Regions from separate parts of the Homo sapiens genome. Here regions 1, 2 and 4 are each linked to region 3. Evidence: promoter capture Hi-C in human tissues and cell types (Jung and others, 2019). All regions are on one chromosome and are shown on one strand. The core of a region is centred on a gene start or on the middle of the fragment in contact, and the rest is flanking DNA. Distances in the headings are between cores, read along the strand shown.

The links. Contacts are between HindIII fragments. The study calls those that stand out against the background at their distance.
Region 1: the fragment with the promoter of DIABLO here is called in contact with the fragment with the promoter of CCDC62 in region 3 in 6 of the 25 tissues and cell types used here (aorta, dorsolateral prefrontal cortex, heart left ventricle and 3 more).
Region 2: a contact is called between a fragment that was not itself captured here and the fragment with the promoter of CCDC62 in region 3, in 1 of the 25 tissues and cell types used here (spleen).
Region 4: a contact is called between a fragment that was not itself captured here and the fragment with the promoter of CCDC62 in region 3, in 1 of the 25 tissues and cell types used here (psoas muscle).

What each region holds. Positions count from the first base shown.
Region 1 is chr12:122,222,867-122,227,765 of GRCh38, reverse strand. DIABLO (diablo IAP-binding mitochondrial protein) reads left to right here and starts at 1,714. Exons shown (of 6, transcript NM_001371333.1): 1 at 1,714-1,801; 2 at 3,122-3,254. The coding sequence starts at 1,752. It overlaps LOC128125816, which reads left to right and starts at 1,202. Exons shown (of 1, transcript NM_001414998.1): 1 at 1,202-1,336. The coding sequence starts at 1,202. The coding sequence ends at 1,336. It overlaps LOC101593348 (a long non-coding RNA gene), which reads right to left and starts at 1,324. Exons shown (of 1, transcript NR_103497.1): 1 at 1-1,324. RefSeq lists enhancers at 1-568, 569-1,400, 1,350-1,644, 1,698-1,937, 1,948-1,997 and 1 more and a silencer at 1,268-1,407. The HindIII fragment of the contact is 13,255 bases long and covers 1-4,899 here.
Region 2 is chr12:123,412,561-123,417,464 of GRCh38, reverse strand. RILPL2 (Rab interacting lysosomal protein like 2) reads left to right here. Exons shown (of 4, transcript NM_145058.3): 4 at 1,544-2,426. The coding sequence ends at 1,574. Among named protein-coding and RNA genes, the nearest start is that of RILPL2, 22 kb to the left of the region's middle. The HindIII fragment of the contact is 7,685 bases long and covers 1-4,904 here.
Region 3 is chr12:122,771,379-122,776,111 of GRCh38, reverse strand. CCDC62 (coiled-coil domain containing 62) reads right to left here and starts at 1,540. Exons shown (of 13, transcript NM_201435.5): 1 at 1,406-1,540. The coding sequence starts at 1,441. RefSeq lists silencers at 676-970, 1,493-1,702 and enhancers at 1,173-1,312, 700-1,393. The HindIII fragment of the contact is 10,219 bases long and covers 1-4,733 here.
Region 4 is chr12:123,336,222-123,341,323 of GRCh38, reverse strand. SBNO1 (strawberry notch homolog 1) reads left to right here. Exons shown (of 32, transcript NM_001167856.3): 5 at 236-336; 6 at 4,833-4,929. Among named protein-coding and RNA genes, the nearest start is that of MIR8072, 26 kb to the left of the region's middle. RefSeq lists a silencer at 1-156. The HindIII fragment of the contact is 4,997 bases long and covers 418-5,102 here.

The DNA of each region.
Region 1 (4,899 bases), core at 465-2,964, 550 kb after region 3:
TGTGTTTGTTAGAAACGAAACTGTTCGCACTATAACCCCATAACCCCTTACAATGTTCAGAAAAAAACAAGAAGGGGCTTGAAATACCCACTAGTGTGCCGCCTGCTCAGCCCATCTGGGTCTGTGAAACCACATCTGAGCCCTGTGGGCTGTGGTGGCGACACAGGCAGAGGGCGGGCAGGGTTGCCAGCGCCCCGCCTGGGCTAGGAACGCCTGTGCGCAGCTCCCTGAGAGCTCGGGGACCACGCGGAGGTTGTAATTGGTCTCTAGACCACACCTAGTTGTTGAGTGCCGCTGCTTGAAAATCTCAGTTCTGCCGAGATCGCAGAATACACACAAGCTACCTTTGGGCACCAGAGCAGACAGAACCGCGGAGCTTCAGGGTGGAAGATTCGTGGAAACTTTGCCAAGTAAGTGAGGTGGGGAGAGAAGGAAGCCAGTGCCTGACACTGTGGGGAGTGGCTGGGCAAAGCAGCATTGGAGGTGTTGTAGGGTTCCTACTGTCTGATGAGCTGGTGTGGGGTTCTTACTGTCTGATGTCGTCTCTGGTGGAAGTTAGCAGGGCTGGGGCAGATGCACAGAGCACGGTGGCGGGGGTGAGCCCAGGATCGGATTGATGCCCACCCACCACCTGGCACCCTGCAGTCCCAGCTGGCCAGAAGGCAAGCATGCTGGACCACAAAGCAAAGATCCTCCAGCTCTGCTGCTGGCAAGCCTTGGGGCCAGGGGACTCACAGAAGAGCAGGTTTGGGCCTGTGCCTTCCTCCTGCCCAAATGGGTCTCTCTCCCCTTCCCCTTCCAGCCAGGGCCGCAGCTGGGGCTGCAGCTTGAGTGACGGGAAAAGAAAGGTTTACTCCACCAGCGCATTAGCGGCACTCACAGCATTAAAAATGCAGGAGGTGGTGGGAGGAGCGGGCCAGGGAGGAAAACTCATGCAGCTGCGGGGCGCGGGGAAGAGCCGGGCTTCTGCCTCCTCAGCCCGGATCAGAGCCGAAGAACGAGGGCAGTTTGGGTTGAGAAGGATTCTCCAGTGTAACCGAGAAGCGAGCGTCCAGGAGGCTGTTGGGGAGGTCGGCACTGTGGGCTTCCTGGCCTTCGTTTGCTGTTTCGAGGGCCAGGACCTCGTGTGTTCCCGTCCGCCCCTCTGGGACGGCGCCAGCCCGGCAGGCCGCCGACCGTCCTGGGGCTCCCGCGCAGCGCGATGCCGGCCTCGTCCACCGTCCACGTGCTGCAGCTGCTGCGGGAGCTGCTCGCCTTCGTGCTCCTCAGCTACACGGTGCTCATCGGGGCGCTGCTGCTGGCCGGCTGGACCACTTACTTCCTGGTGCTGAAGTGACAGCGCCGTCGCCGCGCCCGGCCCCGCCTCCCGCCCGGCCCCGCCTCCCGCCCGGCCCCGCCTCCCTAACTCACCAGGAAATTCCCTTCAAGCCCTGGCCCGAACTGAGTCCCCGCCCACCCGCCAGCGTCACGGCGCCCGACTCAGCTCCGCGCCGGACCCACCTCCGCGCCCTCAGGCCCTGCATATGCCCCGCCCCGCGCGGAAGTTCCGGCGGTTGGTTGCCTTGCGCGGCCGTTACAGCCTTTGCCCTAAGCCTCGCCCCCTTTCCCCCTGCCTGCCCAATCCCGACTGCTTCCTTGGGTGGGGGCGTGGCTATGGGGCGAGGCGCTCTCAGGTGGAGGCCGTGCCCCGCTCCGCGCTCACGAAGCTGCGTCACTTCCGGCGTGTGCGTCTGGCGTCCGCGCGCTGCACAATGGCGGCTCTGAAGAGTTGGCTGTCGCGCAGCGTAACTTCATTCTTCAGGTACCGCTGCGGCCGCGTAGAGGGGACAGGACCAGAGGGAGGGACCGACGCGGACAGCGCTGTGGCCCGGCCCACGGCGCCCGCCTTCCTTACGCGCTCATCTCTCGTCCGCCCAGCTGGGTCGCGGCGTCTCGCTCCGGTCGGGAGGACTGAGGACAGCCCCGCCTCCGCCCCCTGGGTCAAGCCCGGCTTCCTTTTCAGTTCGTCCATCTTCTAGAAACGAGTCCCCGAGACCCCGGGCTGCCTTCTTGGGGCTGCTCCGCCTCCTGACCAGCCCTCGTCAGCCACTCGAAGTCCCTGAGGAGACGTGGAGAGGAGGAGGGACACGGCATGGGGGGAGTCCGGGAAGGGAGACGAGCGTCTGAAGACGTCCTCCCGAGGGCAGAAGGGGCCGGGGGAGCTGGCGCAGGGCTCTCTACCTAGCGCTGCAGGCTCCTGGGCGATTGTAGCGGGACCGTCACACACAACTGGCACCCAGGCCAGGGGTCCAGAGCTAAATTCTGCCTGCAGGAGCGGTTATTGTGGCATCCGTTTCTAAAAAGTTTAAAGGCAACATTTTATTTTATTTTAATTTTTTTGAGACAAGATCTGCCTCTGTCGCCCAGGCTGGAGTGCAGTGGCGAGATCTCAGCTCACTGCAACCTGTGCCTCCCGGCTTCAAGCGATTCTCAGCCTCAGCCTCCCGAGTAGCTGGGATTGCAGGCGCCCGCCACCACGCCCGGCTAATTTTTTTTTTTCTTTTTGTTTTGTTTGAGACTCAGTCTCGCTCTGTTGCCCAGGCTGAAGTGCAGTGGGGCGCTCTCGGCTCACTGCAACCTCTGCCTCCCAGGTTCAAGCGATTCTCCTGCCTCAGCCTCCCGAGTAGCTGGGATTACAGGAGCGTGCCACCACTCCGGGCTAATTTTTGTGTTTTAAGTAGAGATGGGGTTTCACCATGTTGGTCAGGCAGATTTCGAATTCCTGACCTCAAGTGATCCACCCGCCTCGGCCTTTATTTACTTATTTTTTTTTAATAGACACGGGGTCATGTTGCCAGCCATGTTGCCCAGGCTGGTCGTGAACTCCTGGGCTCAAGTGATCCTCCCGCCTTGCCCTTGGCCTTCCAAGTGCTAGGATTACAGGCGTGAGCCACCAACACCCTGCCTGAGGCAACATTTTAAACTTGGTGTATGTTGAAAATTTCAAAACCCCTCAGCTGTCCTGCATCCTCATTTAGGTTCCTGCTTGGCTCGAGTTTGAGTTTACAGCCCCTGCAAGTAAATCCAAGAGCCTGTTACAGATTGGCGGTCGTGCCTTATGAAATCTGACTTCTACTTCCAGGTACAGACAGTGTTTGTGTGTTCCTGTTGTGGCTAACTTTAAGAAGCGGTGTTTCTCAGAATTGATAAGACCATGGCACAAAACTGTGACGATTGGCTTTGGAGTAACCCTGTGTGCGGTTCCTATTGCACAGGTACTGTCGTGTGCAGTGATTCTTATCTAGTGTACCGTGTCCTCTTGAAGTCTCAAGTGGGCGGTGAAGCATTAGACAAGCTACCATAGTTTTTCCCAGTGCTCCCATCCCTTCCCCCACAGTACCGGCATCTTTTCACAGTTGAGCAGATATATTAATATTCTCATTTTGATTATCTCATTTGGTAGGAACAGCACATCAAATTGTATAAAGCGAGTAGAGAGAAATAAGAGGATATTACAGTCTATCAACAAAGTAGTCTTTGATTCAACAGAAATTTATTGAGCAACTTTTATGTGCAAGACACTGAGAATGTAAGAATGAACAACAAAAAATTCTTGTTCTCACAAAAGCTTTGTGGAGATGAAAGAGGATAAAATATAAAATATCAGCTGGTGATAAATGGTGGGAAGAAAACAGGGCCGGGCACAGTGGCTGATGCCCAGGGCTTTGGGAGGCTGAGGTGGGAGGATGGCTTGAGCTCAGGAGTTTGAGACCAGCCTAGTCAACATAGGGAGACTCTGTCTCTACAAAACAGAAAAATTTAGCCGGGTGTGGTGGCTCACACTTCTAGTGGCAACTACTCAGGAGGCTGAGGCAGGAAGATCACTTGAGCCCAGGAGTTTGAGGCTGCAGTGAGCTATGATCTCACCACTGCTCTCCAGCCTGGGTGACAGGGCAAGACCTTTTCTCAAAAACAAAACAAAACAAATGAGGTAAGTGAATAGGCAATTCTGGGAGGGAGTTTTGTTTTAGATAAAGGTGGTCAAGCTACTCTGATAAGGCGAAGTAGAGATCTGAATGTTCTGAAAGAGCCATTATACTATCTGGTGCGGGGAGGAGCTTGCCAGGCAGAAGGAACTCAGAAGGACAAAGACCTAGAAGCAGAAGTATGCCTGGTATGTCTGAGGAGCATGGAGCTAATGTGTCTGGAGGCGAATGGGGGAGACCGTAATAGATGAAGCCAGAGAGTTAACTGATAATCAGATTGTGTCCTTTGTATTTTGTGGGCCATTGTTGTAAGGCTTTGGGTTTTCTGAAAAAGAAGCCGCAGAAGATATTTTTTTTTTTTTTTTTTAAAGACAGAGTCTCACTCTGTTGCCAGGCTGCAGTGCAATGGCACAATCTTGGCTCACTGCAACCTCCGCCTCCCAGGTTCAAGCAATTCTCATGCCTTAGCCTCCGGGTAGCTGGGATTACAGGGGTGTGCCACCGCACCCAGCTAGTTTTTGTATTTTTAGTAGAGATGGGGTTTCTCCATGCTTGTGAGGCTGGTCACGAACCCCTGACCTCAGGCGATCCACACGCCTCGGCATCCCAAGGTGCTGGGATTACAGGCCTGAGCCACCGTGCCCGGCTGTCACAGAGGATTTTTAACACAGAACTATTATGATCTGACATAAATTTTAAAAGTTAAAAGGTTGCTGTGTGGAACTAGGAAGACTAGTTGCTATATCTAGGCATGAAATGATACTGGCTTGGACCAGGCAAGCAGAAGAGGTGGGGAGAATTTAGCTCAACGTAGTTAGCAGGAGTTGCTGATGGATTGGTTGTCGGGTGTATTCTCTAGATTAGGGGTCCCCAACCCCTGGGCTGGTACTGGTCTGTGGCCTGTTAGGAAGCAAGCTGCACAGCAGGAGGTGAG
Region 2 (4,904 bases), core at 1,245-3,744, 640 kb before region 3:
TATTCTAGGTACGTTGGGAAGAGACATTGGATGGTTTTAAGCTGGAGAGTAACATGACCGTATTTATGTACAAAAAGCTCACTCTGGTTGCCTTGTGGAGAAGGGTTGGGAGACAGGGTCAAAGTAAGGCCAATGGGGGTGTTTCTTTTTTCCTTTTTTTTTTTTTGAGATGGGGTCTCACTCTGTCACCCAGGCTGGTGTGCGGTAGCTTGATCTCAGCTCACTGCAACCTCCGCCTCCCAGTTTCAAGCGATCCTCCCACCTCAGCCTCCCGAGTAGCTGGGACCACAGGTGTTCACCATCATGCCCAGCTAATTTTTGTATTTTTGGTAAAGATGGGGTTTCTCCACGTTTCTCAGGCTGGTCTGGAACTCCTGAGCTCAAGCAATCCGCCCGCCTCAGCCTCCCAATGTGCTAGGATTACGGGTGTAAGCCACTGCACCCAGCCTAATGGAAGTGTTTCTTCCACAAGGAAGGGTCTTCTGAGGTAAGATAATGAAAGAGCACCTCCACCCAGGTGTCCGAAGTGAAGGTGTTCATTTAGGACTTTCATTGGCTGTCTTGTTGCAAATCAGGCTTCCAGAAGGCATAAACTACTGGTTTCTTTCAGCGTCCTTCTACGGGAGCTTAGGACACCTAATTGGAGTTTGAGCCTAATAGAGCAAAAGTGAAATGTGTGTTCTGTGCATGAGCTAGCCTGAGGACATGTGGCTAGTGGCTAATGAGCGTGAGGCCACCCTTTCAGGGTCAGATAAACTTAATGAGCTACTAGAATCAATGAGTGAATGAATGAACGAATGAATGTGTTTTTTTGTTTTTGTTTTTGAGACGGAGTCTCAATCTGTCACCCAGGCTGGAGTGCAGTGGCACCATCTTGGCTCACTGCAAGCTCCGCCTCCCGGGTTTATGCCATTCTCCTGCCTCAGCCTCCCGAGGCAGCTGGGACTACAGGCGCCCGCCACCACACCCGGCTAATTTTTTGTATTTTTAGTAGAGACGGGGTTTCACCGTGTGAGCCAGGATGGTCTCGATCTCCTGACCTCATGATCTGCCTGCCTCCGTCTCCCAAAGTGCTGGGATTACAGGCATGAGCCACCGCACCCGGGTTTTTTGGGGTTTTTTTGCTTTTTCTTTTTCTTTTGAGATAGTGTCTTGCTCTGTCGCCCAGGCTGGAGTGCAGTGGCGCAATCTCGGCTCACTGCAACCTCTGCGTCCCGGGTTCAAGCGATTCTCCTGCCTCAGCTTCCTGAGTAGCTGGGATTACAGGTGTATGCCACCACGCCTGGTTAATTTTTTTTTTTTTTTAGAGATGGGGTCTCACTATGCTGCCCAGGCATGTCTGAGACTCCTGGGATCAAGTGATCCTCATCCTCTTGCCTCAGCTTCCCAAAATCATAGGATTACAGGCGTGAGCCACAATGCCTGGCCTGGACATATTTTTGAGTCAACAGCTGCAAGAGCTACTTAGAAATTTTACGGGGGTTGCTGTGCCCCTTGCTTTGTTCCTTCTGCTTACCCTGAACCCTCTCTCTCTCCACACCAGGTTCTTTTTTCGATCGGGGAAACAGACCTAGATCCAAGGCCACAAGTAAGGCTATGGCTCTGATTCTAGAAGACAACCTTCCAAGATGCCTGGCAAAACCACCTCCCTGTGCCACACAGACACACTAGGCCTGTGTATTTATTTCCCCTTCAAAGCAGACTGAGGAGGGAGGAGACGAGGTTCTCTTGGCATCACTTTCTCCCTGGCTGCAGAACTAGACACCCTTGAAGATTTGGCCTGGGCCAGTGAGACTGAAATCAAGAAAAACAGAAGGGATGTGCAGGGTGGGGGGGTCCACTTCCTGCTCCCATGTCAACCCCCAGGGCCTCCAGCGTGCAGACGCGTGTCCTACTCATCTGCTCCCACGGATGACCCTGGTCTTCAATGGTTAGCAGAAGGGAGAAAAGAAAGCAGGAAAATGTGCTATTGAGATTCCAGTGGTGACTTCACTGATATTTAGTGAATATTTGATTTAGCCAACATGCCTTTCTTTATGTGATTTTGTATTAAAGTAAAATGATTTTTATACTTTCTATAGCTTATCTAGAGTGGTCTCTTAGTTACGATGGTACACATGGTATATGTGTGTATATGTCATATATCTACATTTCATTGTATAATGAATCAATTGCATTCATTCAGTCTAAGCGATGCACGATTATCTGGTGTCACTATGAAGGGAAAGATTGCTGCAAACTAAAATGTTAAGAAGCTATCGATTTTAGGACTCATCCTGATTTCAGAGGTGTTAAGATGTGAACAAAATGCATTTAGGAATCAATGAAACAGAGAGCGGGTGTCTGCACTTCGCAAAGGAACTAATGAGGCTGCCGCAACCATTCCGTGAGCCTGTCTTCTTAGTAAATAACAGTGGCTTACTCAATGTGTTTCGCCTGCTCTGTGGATTATCTCATTTGTTCCTCATAACCTGGGGAGATGGGGACCGGTACCGGTGCACCAGTTTATAGATTTTTTTTTTTTTTTTTTTTGAGACGGAGTCTCTCGCTCTGTCGCACAGTCTGGAGTGCAGTGGCACGATCTCGGCTCACTACAAGCTCTGCTGCCTACGTTCACGCCATTCTCTTGCCTCAGCCTCCTGAGTAGCTGGGACTACAGGCACTTGCCACCACACTCGTCTAATTTTTTTGTATTTTTAGTAGAGACAGGGTTTCGCCGTGTTAGCCAGGATGGTCTCGATCTCCTGACCTCGTGATCCACCCGCCTCAGCCTCCCAAAGTGCTGGTGAGAGGTGACAGCGTGCTGGCAGTCCTCACAGCCCTCGCTCGCTCTCGGCGCCTCCTCTGCCTGGGCTCCCACTTTGGCGGCACTTGAGGAGCCCTTCAGCCCACCGCTGCACTGTGGGAGCCCCTTTCTGGGCTGGCCAAGGCCGGAGCCCGCTCCCTCAGCTTGCAGGGAGGTGTGGAGGGAGAGGCGCGAGCGGGAACCGGGGCTGCGCGGGGCGCTTGCGGGCCAGCTGGAGTTCCGGGTGGGCGTGGGCTTGGTGGGCCCCGCACTCGGAGCAGCTGGCGGGCCCTGCCGGCTCCGGGCAATGAGGGGCTTAGCACCCGGGCCAGCGGCTGCTGAGGGTGTGCTGGGTCCCCCAGCAGTGCCAGCCCACCGGCGCTGCGCTCGATTTCTCGCCGGGCCTTAGCTGCCTTCCCGTGGGGCAGGGCTCGGGACCTGCAGCCCGCCATGCCTGAGCCTCCCACCCCCTCCGTGGGCTCCTGTGCGGCCCAAGCCTCCTCCACGAGCCCCACCCCCTGCTCCATGGTGTCCAGTCCCATCAACGACCCAAGGGTTGAGGAGTGCAGGCACAGGGCACGGGACTGGCAGGCAGCTCCATCTGCAGCCCCGGTGCGGGATCCACTGGGTGAAGCCAGCTGGGCTCCTGAGTCTGCTGGGGACGTGGAGAACCTTTGTGTCTAGCTCAGGGATTGTAAATACACCAATCGGCACTCTGTATCTAGCTCAAGGTTTGTGAACACACCAATCAGCACCCTGTGTCTAGCTCAGGGTTTGTGAATGCACCAATCGACATTCTGTATCTAGCTACTCTGGTGGGGCCTTGGAGAACCTTTGTGTCCACACTCTGTATCTAGCTAATCTGGTGGGGACGTGGAGAACCTTTGTGTCTAGATCAGGGATTGTAAACGCACCAATCAGCGCCCTGTCAAAACAGACCACTTGGCTCTACCAATCAGCAGGATGTGGGTGGGGCCAGATAAGAGAATAAAAGCAGGCTGCCCCAGGCAGCAGTGGCAACCCGCTCGGGTTCCTTTCCGCATTGTGGAAGCTTTGTTCTTTTGTTCTTTGCAATAAATCTTACTACTGCTTACTCTTTGGGTCCACACTGCTTTTATGAGCTGTAATACTCACCCCGAAGGTCTGCAGCTTCACTCCTGAAGCTAGGGAGACCAGGAGCCCACCAGGAGGAACGAGCAACTCCAGACGCGCCGCCTTAAGAGCTGTAACACTCACCACGAAGGTCTGCAGCTTCACTCCTGAGCCAGCGAGATCACGAACCCACCAGAAGGAAGAAACTCCGAACACATCTGAACATCAGAAGGAACAAACTCTGGACACGCCACCTTTAAGAACTGTAACACTCACCGCGAGGGTCCGCGGCTTCATTCTTGAAGTCAGTGAGACCAAGAACCCACCAATTCCGGACACACTGGGATTACAGGCGTGAGCCACCGCACCCGGCTTTTTTTTGGGGGGTGGTGGGGACGGAGTCTTGCTCTATCGCCCAGGCTGGAGTGCAGTGGCACCATCTGGGTTCACTGCAATCTCTGCCTCCCAGATTCAAGCGATGCTCCTGCCTCAGCCTCCCGACTAGCTGGGACTATAGGTATATGCCACCACACTGGGTTAATTTTTGTATTTTTGTAGAGACGGGGTTTCACCATATTGGCCAGGCTGGTCTCGAACTCCTGACCTCATGATCCGCCCTCCTCGGCCTCCCAAAGTGCTGGGATTACAGGCGTGAGTCACCGTGCCCGGCCAGTTTATAGGTTTAGAAACTGAAACTCTGGCTGTGGAGCTAGGAAGCAGCTTGCCCAGGAGGCAAATGCAGGCCTGATTCCAAGGCCCGGGCGCGGAGCTGCCAAGCTTTATGGGTCCAGAGTCACTGGCAAGTCCTAATAATAGTAATAATTTACTGTATGCCTCGCCTGCATCATTCTAAGTACCTTTCCGATGCTGTCTCACATACTTTTGTGGGATGGGTATCACTATTGTCCTTGGGGTCCTCCCAAGGAGGTTAAGGCATAATGGGTGAAAAGTCTTGTCTAAGGTCCTCAGCTAGAAAGTGGTAGAAGCAGGACTTGAGCCCAGATACAAAGTCCACACACAGGCTTCA
Region 3 (4,733 bases), core at 291-2,790:
CAACAAACATCAGCTCTCATTAACACTGTAAACCACATTTCAAATCATGGTGCTGTCCCTGCCTATGAAATAAACAACTAAAAGTGTTACTTTAATAGAGTTCCACCTTAAAGACAGTAATTAAAGGTTCAACAGAGGCCCTTTGTACCTCCTTACTGCTTTTTGAAAAGTAAGATTTGTAAATAAACAAGAATAATGAGGTTGGGCTCAGTGGCTCACGCCTGTAATCCCAGCACTTTGGAAGGCCGAGGTGGGCAGATCACCTGAGGTCGGGAGTTCGAGACCAGCCTGGCCAACATGGCGAAACCCTGTCTCTACTAAAAACACAAAAATTAGCTCGGCATGGTGGTGGGAGCCTGTAGTCCCAGCTATTTGGGAGGCTGAGGCGGGAGGATTGCTTGAACTCGGGAAGCAGAGGCTGCAGTAAGCCGACATTGCGTCACTGTACTCCAGCCCTGGGGACAGAGCCAGACCCTGTCTCAAAAATAAATAAATAAGAATGATGAATAAATTACAGTTGCTAGTCTTAACAAGGAAAATGGAATTTGGAGTCAAGGGATTTCAAGTCCCAAGGCTTGAATTCCAGTGTTGGGTTAGCCCTTCATTCATGCACTCAACAAATAATTTATTGAGCGCCAGTGGCTGGGCCACAGACCTCCAGGCAAGGAGCACATATTCCACTCCAGGAAAACAGGCAGTAAGCCGAGTACACAAAGGCAGGTCGTCTTACACTGATGGACGCGAACCTTGGGCAAGCCCACTTCCAGACTTTTTGGTACAGTGGAGTTGTGAGAGCTCCTTCCTCTACTCGCCAGGTTGTGTAAATTAAGGACACCCTGAGAGGTAAATGGGAAAGCAGCTCCCCAGACGCCAATCGTCCTCCTTAAACAGTAAGCACCGGGTACGCGCTACTCTGTGGCCCGGGCTGAATAACAAGGTGTTATTGGGTTAAGGAAACGGTCGTGACGCCGTTTTCCTCTAGTGTATTGTTTCACTTTTTTTTTTTTTTTTTTTTTTTGAGACGGAGTCTCGCTCTGTCGCCCAGGCTGGAGTGCAGTGGCGCGATCTCGGCTCACTGCAAGCTCTGCCTCCCGGGTTCACGCCATTCTCCTGCCTCAGCCTCCCGAGTAGCTGGGATTACAGGCGCCCGCCGCCACGCCCGGCTAATTTTTTTTTTTTTATTTTTAGTAGAGACGGGGTTTCACTGTGTTAGCCAGGATGGTCTCGATCTCCTGACCTCGTGATCCGCCCGCCTCCGCCTCCCAAAGCGCTGGGATTACAGGCGTGAGCCACCGCGCCCGGCCTGTTTCACATTTTAAGTAGACACCGTTCTTGAGAAGCAATAGATTTCGACCAATGTGCACCGTTCCCGCGGCGCCCCGCCGCGCCCGGAACCGCTGCTTACCTGGCGCCCGGCAAGGAAGGCTGCCGGAGGGTTCATAGGTGTTTCCTCCGCCCCCGGAGAAGCCCGGTGTGGGCGGCGTCACCTCAGAAACGCCATCGGCGCGCCTGCCCCGAGCGGCGGGGGCGAGCCCGGAGCCCCGGGGCCCCGCGCCCTCGGCCGACCCCCGCCCCGTACTCCAACCGCCTGCCTGGTGCCCACGCGGCGTGCGCCCGCCGGGGCTCGGGGCTCCCCGCCAGGGTTTCCGGGCCGCAGCCCCGCTGCGCTGGTGGGCACTGTTCTTCTGCCTCGGAAACTGGGGGCTCCCAAGTGGCTCAGGCTGCGTATGGACGCTTTTTGCCCACGCCCGAGGCTCCGGCGCTGGAAGGCCTGAAAGAACCGGCTGTTCACCACTACCCAGAGAATGAAGAAGTCAATAAAGGCTGCTGCGCCGCCCCCAGCACTCTGGTTTATGACATTTGAGTTGCTCACTTCCCTATCTTCCATCTTCCCCCTAATAACCGTGAGCTCGGCCGTGCTCGCTCCTGTGTAGCTGGCTCCCAGAACAGGACCTGACACTCGAATGCGTGGAGGCAGAGCCCAGCCCTCGGGGATAACAGTTGCGGGCTACCCTAGCACCTTTGATACTTTAAACCAAGAATCACAGATGAAGAGGGGGAAATTTACTCTTGGGAGCTCCTGAAAAGCAATGAGGAGAACCACGGTACTTTGTCATGACAAAATCTACGATATTCTGGGTTGAATCTAAGCTTTTTCACCTGTTCTTCCATAGTCACCTCTTCATCCCCCTTTCACTCTTCCTAAGATGTGGGAACGGGACTAGGAAAAAATAAGGCTTATCACACTTCAGCCCCGGCTGCCCATCCCTGAATGCTTAACCCATCAGACAGCAACACAATTACTAAATACGGTCGGTCTTACAGGGTTTCAACTTTACTTTTTGGTTGAATATGAAATGCCAAAACATGCCCTTGTGTTCAAAAAATACAATCTGAAAATGGAAAAACAAAATTAAGATTTCTTATTTTGAAGCTTTACTGATAGGCTCATGTTTGGGAGACCAAAGCAATGTCTTAGAATTTAAAATCAAGAAAGCTGGGCGCAGTGGCCTGTAACCCCAGCACTTTGGGAGGCCAATGTAGGAGGATCTGTTGCGTTCAGGAGTTTGAGACCAGCCTGAGCAACATGGTGACACCCACCTCTAAAAAACTTTTTTTTTTTTTTTTTTTGAGATGGAGTCTGGCTCTTGTTGCCTGAGCTGGAGTGCAATGGCACAATCTCGGCTCACTGCAAACTCTGCCTCTGGCCTCAAGCAAATCTCCTGCCTCAGCCTCCCGAGTAGCTGGGATTACAGGTGCCCGCCACCACGCCACCTTTGTTGTATTTTTAGTAGAGATGGGTTTCACTACCTTGGCCAGGCTGGTCGCGAACTCCTGACCTCAGTTGACCCACCCACTTCAGCCTCCCAAAGTGCTGGGATTACAGGTGTGAGCTACCGCACCTGGCCAAAAAATAAATTTTTTTTTAAACTGGGCGTGGTGGTGCACTCCTGTGGTCTCAGCTACTCACGAGGCTGACTTGAGCTGGGAGATGGCGGCTCCAATGAGCTGTGATCATGCCACTGCATTCCAGTCCGATCGAGAGTGAGACCTTGACTCAAAAAAACAAAAATCAGGCCAGACGTGGTGGCTCACGCCTGTAATCCCAGCACTTTGAGAGGCCGAGGAGGATGGATCATGAGATTAGAAGTTTGAGACCAGCCTAGCCAATACAACGAAACCCTGTCTCTACTAAAAATCAAACAAACAAACAAACAAACAAAAACTAGCCACGTGTGGTGGTGCGCACCCATAGTCCCAGCTACTCGGAAGGCTGAGGCAGGAGAATCGCTTGAATGCAGGAGATGGAGGTTACAGTGAGCCAAGACTGCGCCACCTCACTCCAGCCTAGGCAATAGAGGGACACTCCGTATCAAAAAAAAAAAAAAACAAAAAAACACCAACCACCACTACCACCAAAACCCAAAACCAAATAGCCAATAAATACAAAAAGGTGGTCTACTTCCCTGATCATTACAGAAATGCAAAAAAATAAAAATAAATAAATAAATCAACAAAGCAAATTCTGGGTGGGTATTTGCTAAAAACAGTCTAGCAGTAGATGACTGCAGTAAGTTGGTGGTGATGAGATGTAAAGGAATGTGGGTTGAATGTCAATTTTTGAAGTGAGGAGTGTTTTAATTCACGTTTCTTAGGTTTCACCATTGTTAAGACTTGATATTTTTCTAGAAAGTCCTCGAGTGCCATTGTTCACCAGGCAACCATGTGTGACACTCAAGTAAAAATACATGTACAGGCTGGGTGTGGTGGTTCACACCTGTAATCCCAGCACTTTGGGAGGCTGAGGTGGGAGGATAGCTTGAGCTCAGGAGTTTGAGACCAGCCTGGACAACATAGGGAGACCCCCCATCTCTATAAAAAATTTAAAAATTAGCTGGGTATGGTGGCATGTGCCTGTGGTCTCAGCCACTCCAGAAGCTGAAGTGGGAGGATCACTTGAGGCTGGGAGATCAAGGCTGCAGTGAGCTGTGATCATGCCACTGCGTTCCAGCCTGGGCAACAGAGCGAGACTCTGTCTCAAAAATGAATAAAATTGTGTGTATCTAGAATAGTAAGAAATTAGGCTCATTTTGATTATGGTTCATAAATAGTAACTGAGTATAGTAAGAGGATTATGATGGCAAGGTACAAATTAAAAATCTCAAGTTTTTACCTTCGCTCCCCACAGGTTTTCATTAAAACAACAACAACAAAAAAAATTAAAGAGAATACATAACTTTAAAAATATGACAGAGGTGAAAGCTACAAGAATTACACTGCATCTGATTTTATACTCACACAGTCTAATCCAAACTGAAGTTCTGAATGAACTTTTCCCAGTCTCCCTATTTGATTTCCTAGGTAAAGGAATTTAGTAAATAATGAGAACAGGGAACTAAAAGGTAAAATTCATCTTTAAAACAGTAATTTATCAACTTTTAAACTAAGAGTGAGAAAGCTACCACAGACTGGCTTTTATGTAGTAATAAAAAGTTTAAAATCACTTACTGTCAGCATCTGTTTTTAAAAAATGAAATACTTACCAAACTATATGCAAAAAGTATTTGCATTAAAAGTTGCCAGCTTAATCATGGAAAATCTCTTATAAGGCTGCTTAAAGGTTCATGTTTTTTACTAAAAATGGTAGACTGTGAGAATGTGTAAAGTCAATTTTTGAACTACTAGTACTTTTTTTTTTTTTTTTTGGAGACCAGGTTTTACTGTTGCCCAGG
Region 4 (5,102 bases), core at 1,667-4,166, 560 kb before region 3:
GTGCCCGCCACCACGCCCAGCTTGTTTCTGTATTTTTAGTAGAGATGCGGTTTCACAATCTTGGCCAGGCTGGTCTTGAACTCCTGACCTTGTAATTCACCCGCCTTGGTGTCCCAAAAATGCTGGGATTACAGGTGTGAGCCACCGCAGCAGCCTTAAACTTCTGGATTTTTAAATAATGGGAAAATAAGTTCAGAATTTTCTTCTAAATGTAATTTGACTTTTTCCTCCTCAGCTGATGTAAGCAATGGTACAGTAAAGAAAGAGTCTTCTAATAAAGAAGGAGCTAGAATGTGGATAAACGACATGAAGATGAGGAGTTTTTCCCCAACCATGGTGAGTTTCAAATAACTGTGTCTTTATTTTTGTGTAGTATGAGAGTGTACTCAACTAAAAGTGTTCTATATGGAACAACCCTCAGAAAGCTGTTTTTGGGTTGGGAAGAAGCTATACAGGCGTGGGAACTAATGGATATGCTTAAACCTCGCTGGAGTAATATAGATACTAACCAGGGTGGTTAAAACTTGCAGATTGATGGAGTGTGGCACTAACATGCAGTACTGATATCTTACTGTTAAAAATCTCATCTGAGCAGAAAAAAAGACAATGTGGGGTTAACGAAAAGTATTTGATAACTGTGTTCATTTTAGGACCGAACTTGAATAGAAAGCTCATAATGCATTGACAGATCATATAATGATCTGGTTATGAGTGATTCTTTTTTTTTTTTTTTTTTTTTTTTGAGACAGAGTCTTACTCTTATCGCCCAGGCTGGAGTGCAGTGGTGCTATCTTGGCTCACTGTAACCTCCACCTCCCAGGTTCAAGTGATTCTCCCACCTCAGCCTCTCAAGTAGCTGGGATTACAGGCATGTGCCACCATGCTTGGCTAATTTTTGTATTTTTAGTAGAAATGGGGTTTCACCATGTTGGCCAGGATGGTCTCGAACTCCTGACCTCAGGTAATCTGCCCGCCTCAGCCTCCGAAAGTGCTGAGATTACAGGCGTGAGCCACTGCACCCGGCCTGGTTAGAATTCTTAACATTTTGAAAATGCTGTATGCTTTGGATCAATTGATTCCATACATTTATTTAATAAATTCTCCATGTATAACATTGTTAATATGTAGTAGGTTTCTACAAGAAGTATATTTATTACATGATTCTACCTTCAGTAAGCAAAATTTGACAACCATCTGGATTAAGTAGTAATAATGAAAAGTACATCAAATGGTATGCAATGTGCTACTCACAATAAAGGTTAGGAATTTGGAGGAAGAGGTGACCTTCCTGAACTCTAGTGGCCTGGTGGACTTTATGGAGAGGGAATAATGGAGCTTGGGTTTTGAGTATGACGAGACTTTGAGGTGGGATATTAGGAAGGGAGCTAAAGGATTAATGGGCACAGAGGGGAGGTAGTGAGTATGTGCTTCGGTGAAAATAAGCCAGGAAGCTTAGCTTGTAGAAAGAAGTGGGAATAGTAGGTCTGGGCTCCATGGAGGGTCCTGAATTGAGGTTTTTATTGTTGTTGTTGTTTTTGAGATGGAGTCTTGCTCTGTTGACCAGGCTGGAGTGTAGTGGTGCAATCTTGGCTCACTGCAATCTCCGCCTCCCAGGTTCGAGCGATTCTTCTGCCTCAGCTTCCTGAGTAGGTGGGATTACAGGTGCCCACCACCAGCCCTGGCTAATTTTTGTGTTTTTAGTAGAGACGGGGTTTTACCACATTGGCCAGGCTGGTCTCGAATACCTGACCTCAAGTGATCCCTCCAGCTCGGCCTCCCAAAGTGCTGGGAGGCCAAGGTGCCCTGTGCTGAATTGAGTTTGAAGGACTTTGGACTTAGTCTAGCACCATTGAGCCAGTAGACATGGAGGGACCTGTTAGTGATTCAGGAGAAGTTGGGGTGCAGACTGAGTAAAGGGGTAGGGAAGACAGATTCGGGATGAGTAGGAGTAGGCAAAAGAGAGAGGTTGGAAAGTTGGTTAACCTAAGGGGGAAGTAAGAAGGGGTACTAGAGACCTTGCAGAGGGGATTGAAAAACGGAGAGGGGAAAGGAAAAAAAGAGATGACTGTACATAACGATACCAAAAGAATTTTGGGACTTGGTTCTAGAATATGGAATTGGAGACAGTGCAGCAAACTGTAGCTGAGGTTTTGAATGGGAACCAGGAGAACAATAGTGCTACTGGCGGTACCCAGTTTACTTAGTGATTGTCTACCAACAGCACTTGGAAGGTGATTTTTGGAAACTAAGAATGCATATTTCTTCAAGAAATGTTTTATGTGGTTCTCACATTTCCATTTCAGTCCATTATATACCAAAAGTTTTTTATTGGCTTAGCAGTTAAGTAACATCTCAGAGAGACTGCAAACTGATAGCCCATCAACCAAACTAGTCGGGGAGGGGGGGGGGGGCGTGTGTGTGTGTGTGTGTCGGGGTGTGTGTGTGTGTGTGTTTAGACGGTGTCTTGCTGTCACCCAGGCTGGAGGGCAGTGGTGCAATCTCAGCTCACTGCAACTTCTGCCTCCCAGGTTCAAGTGATTCTTCTGCCTCAGCCTCCTGAGCAGCTGGGATTACAGGCGCCCCCCACCACCACCACCACACCCAGATAATTTTTGTTTCTTTTATTTTGTTTATTTATTTTGAGATGGAGTCTCGCTCTGTCACAGGCTGGAGTGCATTGGTGCAGTCTTGGCTCACTGCAACCTCCCCTTCCCGGGCTCAAGCAATTCTCTTCCTCAGCCTCCCAAGTAGCTGGGATTACAGGCGCCCGCCACTACGCCCTGCTAATTTTCTTTTGTATTTTTTAATAGAGATGGGGTTTCACTACCTTGGCCAGGCTGGTCTTGAACTCCTGACCTCGTGATTCACCCGCCTCGGCCTCCCAAAGTGCTGGGATTTCAGGCGTGAGCCACTGTGCCTGGCCTGTATTTTTTAGTAGAGACGGGGTTTTGCCATGTTGGCCAGGCTGGTCTTGAACTCCTGACCTCAGGTGATCCGCCCACCCCTGCTTGCCCAAGTGCTGGGATTACAGGCGTGAGCCACCATGCCTGGCTGACAAATGTATTTTGTTTGGCCTTCATGGTATTTTGAAGAATTTTGAATTTGTTTGCTGACATATACAAATCCTGATTTCCCGGTTATTTTGAAAAATGGGAGTACCTGACAACCCCAGGCCCACGTTCCCCATCTAGGAAGATTTGCCCAGCGTTGTGTAGTGAACATCTACATGGTATGTTGGGCAAACATTTCCCAGGTACCGTGGTCTCCCTCACCCGAGTTATCTCTTTGACCTAAATTTGATGTCAGTTGCTATCTCACATGCACCTGGCTTCAAGGTATTACTTGTTTGTTCCCTGGATATAGTGGTCCTTCAGTATTACCAACTTATCCTTCAGTTATTCAATTATCATCAATTTTATGATGATTTTAAAAAACTATAGGTAGGAGAATAAAGGATGGAGGGAGAAAGGAGGCTGCTTATCTTAACATAGAATACATTTTTATTTTATAAGCGAGGACAGGGTTAGACGGTGGGGGTGGAGAGGACCCAGAATTTAGGTAATTTGCCTAAATTAAAAAACAGACTACACAATTAAATAACAGCAGAATTGGGATTCAAATCTATTCATTTGGCCAGTCCTGTTTTGTCTCGAATTTCCGAAATTGAGTTTTATTTTAGCATAATTTCTGAGAACATTCCAAGTTTTTAGATTTTATCTAAAGACTCCATAGGTTAATGTTGATTGGATGGTTATGTCCCACTTCTTTTCCTTTTCACGTTTGTTATCTATTTGCAACCATATTCTGCTCTAGATTCTGAGGTAAATGAAAAAAGAGCCTGTCCTTCACTTTTAATGCTGTCTCGATCTTGCCTTAATTTGCCTTAACCTGTAGGTTTTTGTTGTCCTCTTCCCTTGGCATACTGAGTTTCACAACAGTTTCTTTATATTCTTCCCTGAACAAGTGCATGCTAATAAACAGTTGCCTAATGATTGTACTGGTAGTGAAAAGTGGCTTATTCCGGATCTTCCTTTATTCCTTTAAGATCCTGTAGAGGAAGAAAAGGGAAGCATAACCGTGGTGACCATTCACTTGGTTTGCCGAGGACAGTCTGGGTTTACTTCTGTTTTCTCAGTGTAATCCTCAATAGCTCCCCAACTCAAATGTGCCAGGGTTTGGAAAATAAATTATATGGCCATCTTATATATGATCACGATTGCATCTGTGGAGACACAGAAGTCTGAAGTAAATTTTTCTGTTCTTCATAAGGGCCTCTAAAATAAACTCCAGTCTTCTGGGGTTTTGGTTTTAGGATATGCGGGAAAGCAGGCAAATAGAAGTGAACTGAGAAGAAGGTGGAATGTGAGACTGAGAGGCCTTGCTTGTGGTGATGCAGGGTCCTTTGGGGCCAATCCACCTTTGCTAGGGTTCACTCCAGTTTTGCACTAGGAAGAGCCAGACACACTGCTTGCTCTTTCTCCTGGAACTAGAATGAAGGCGAAGTCTGAGTGCAGAGAGAGTTCTGGGCATCAAGGAGGGGTGATAGGCAGTATTGAAGGGGAAAGTAGCTTGACACGATGGTGGCCGGAAGGACGTGGAGTCTTGTGACCCATTTGTGGGTAAGAGACAGAGTAGGACCTCATTGTCTGTGCTCATTATTGGAGAAGCAGGAAAGCCACGAAGTGTGGCCCAGATTTTAGGGAGTATTGAGGTGGCGCGTCATGTTTCCATGATGGAAATTTGTAGGTGTTCCTACAAGAGAGTTTTTCTGTGTGTTGGCTGGGCGTCTGGTCCCTGGATTTGGGATTGATTGTGCTCTTTCTGTGTTGCAGAAGGTTCCTGTTGTAAAAGAAGATGATGAACCAGAGGAAGAAGATGAAGAAGAAATGGGTCATGCAGAAACCTATGCAGAATACATGCCAATAAAATGTATGTCTTCGGGATTTGTCAGATATTTACATCAAAGTTTTCCTGTGGTTTCTTTGGTTCTTTTTGTTTTGTTTTTTTCCATATAAATTTAGAATCTTGCTTTAGGTCAAAGTCTTTTAAAACCAAAACTAAAGAAGCTTGGATTTTATTTTAATTTTGTTCATAGGAGTAGT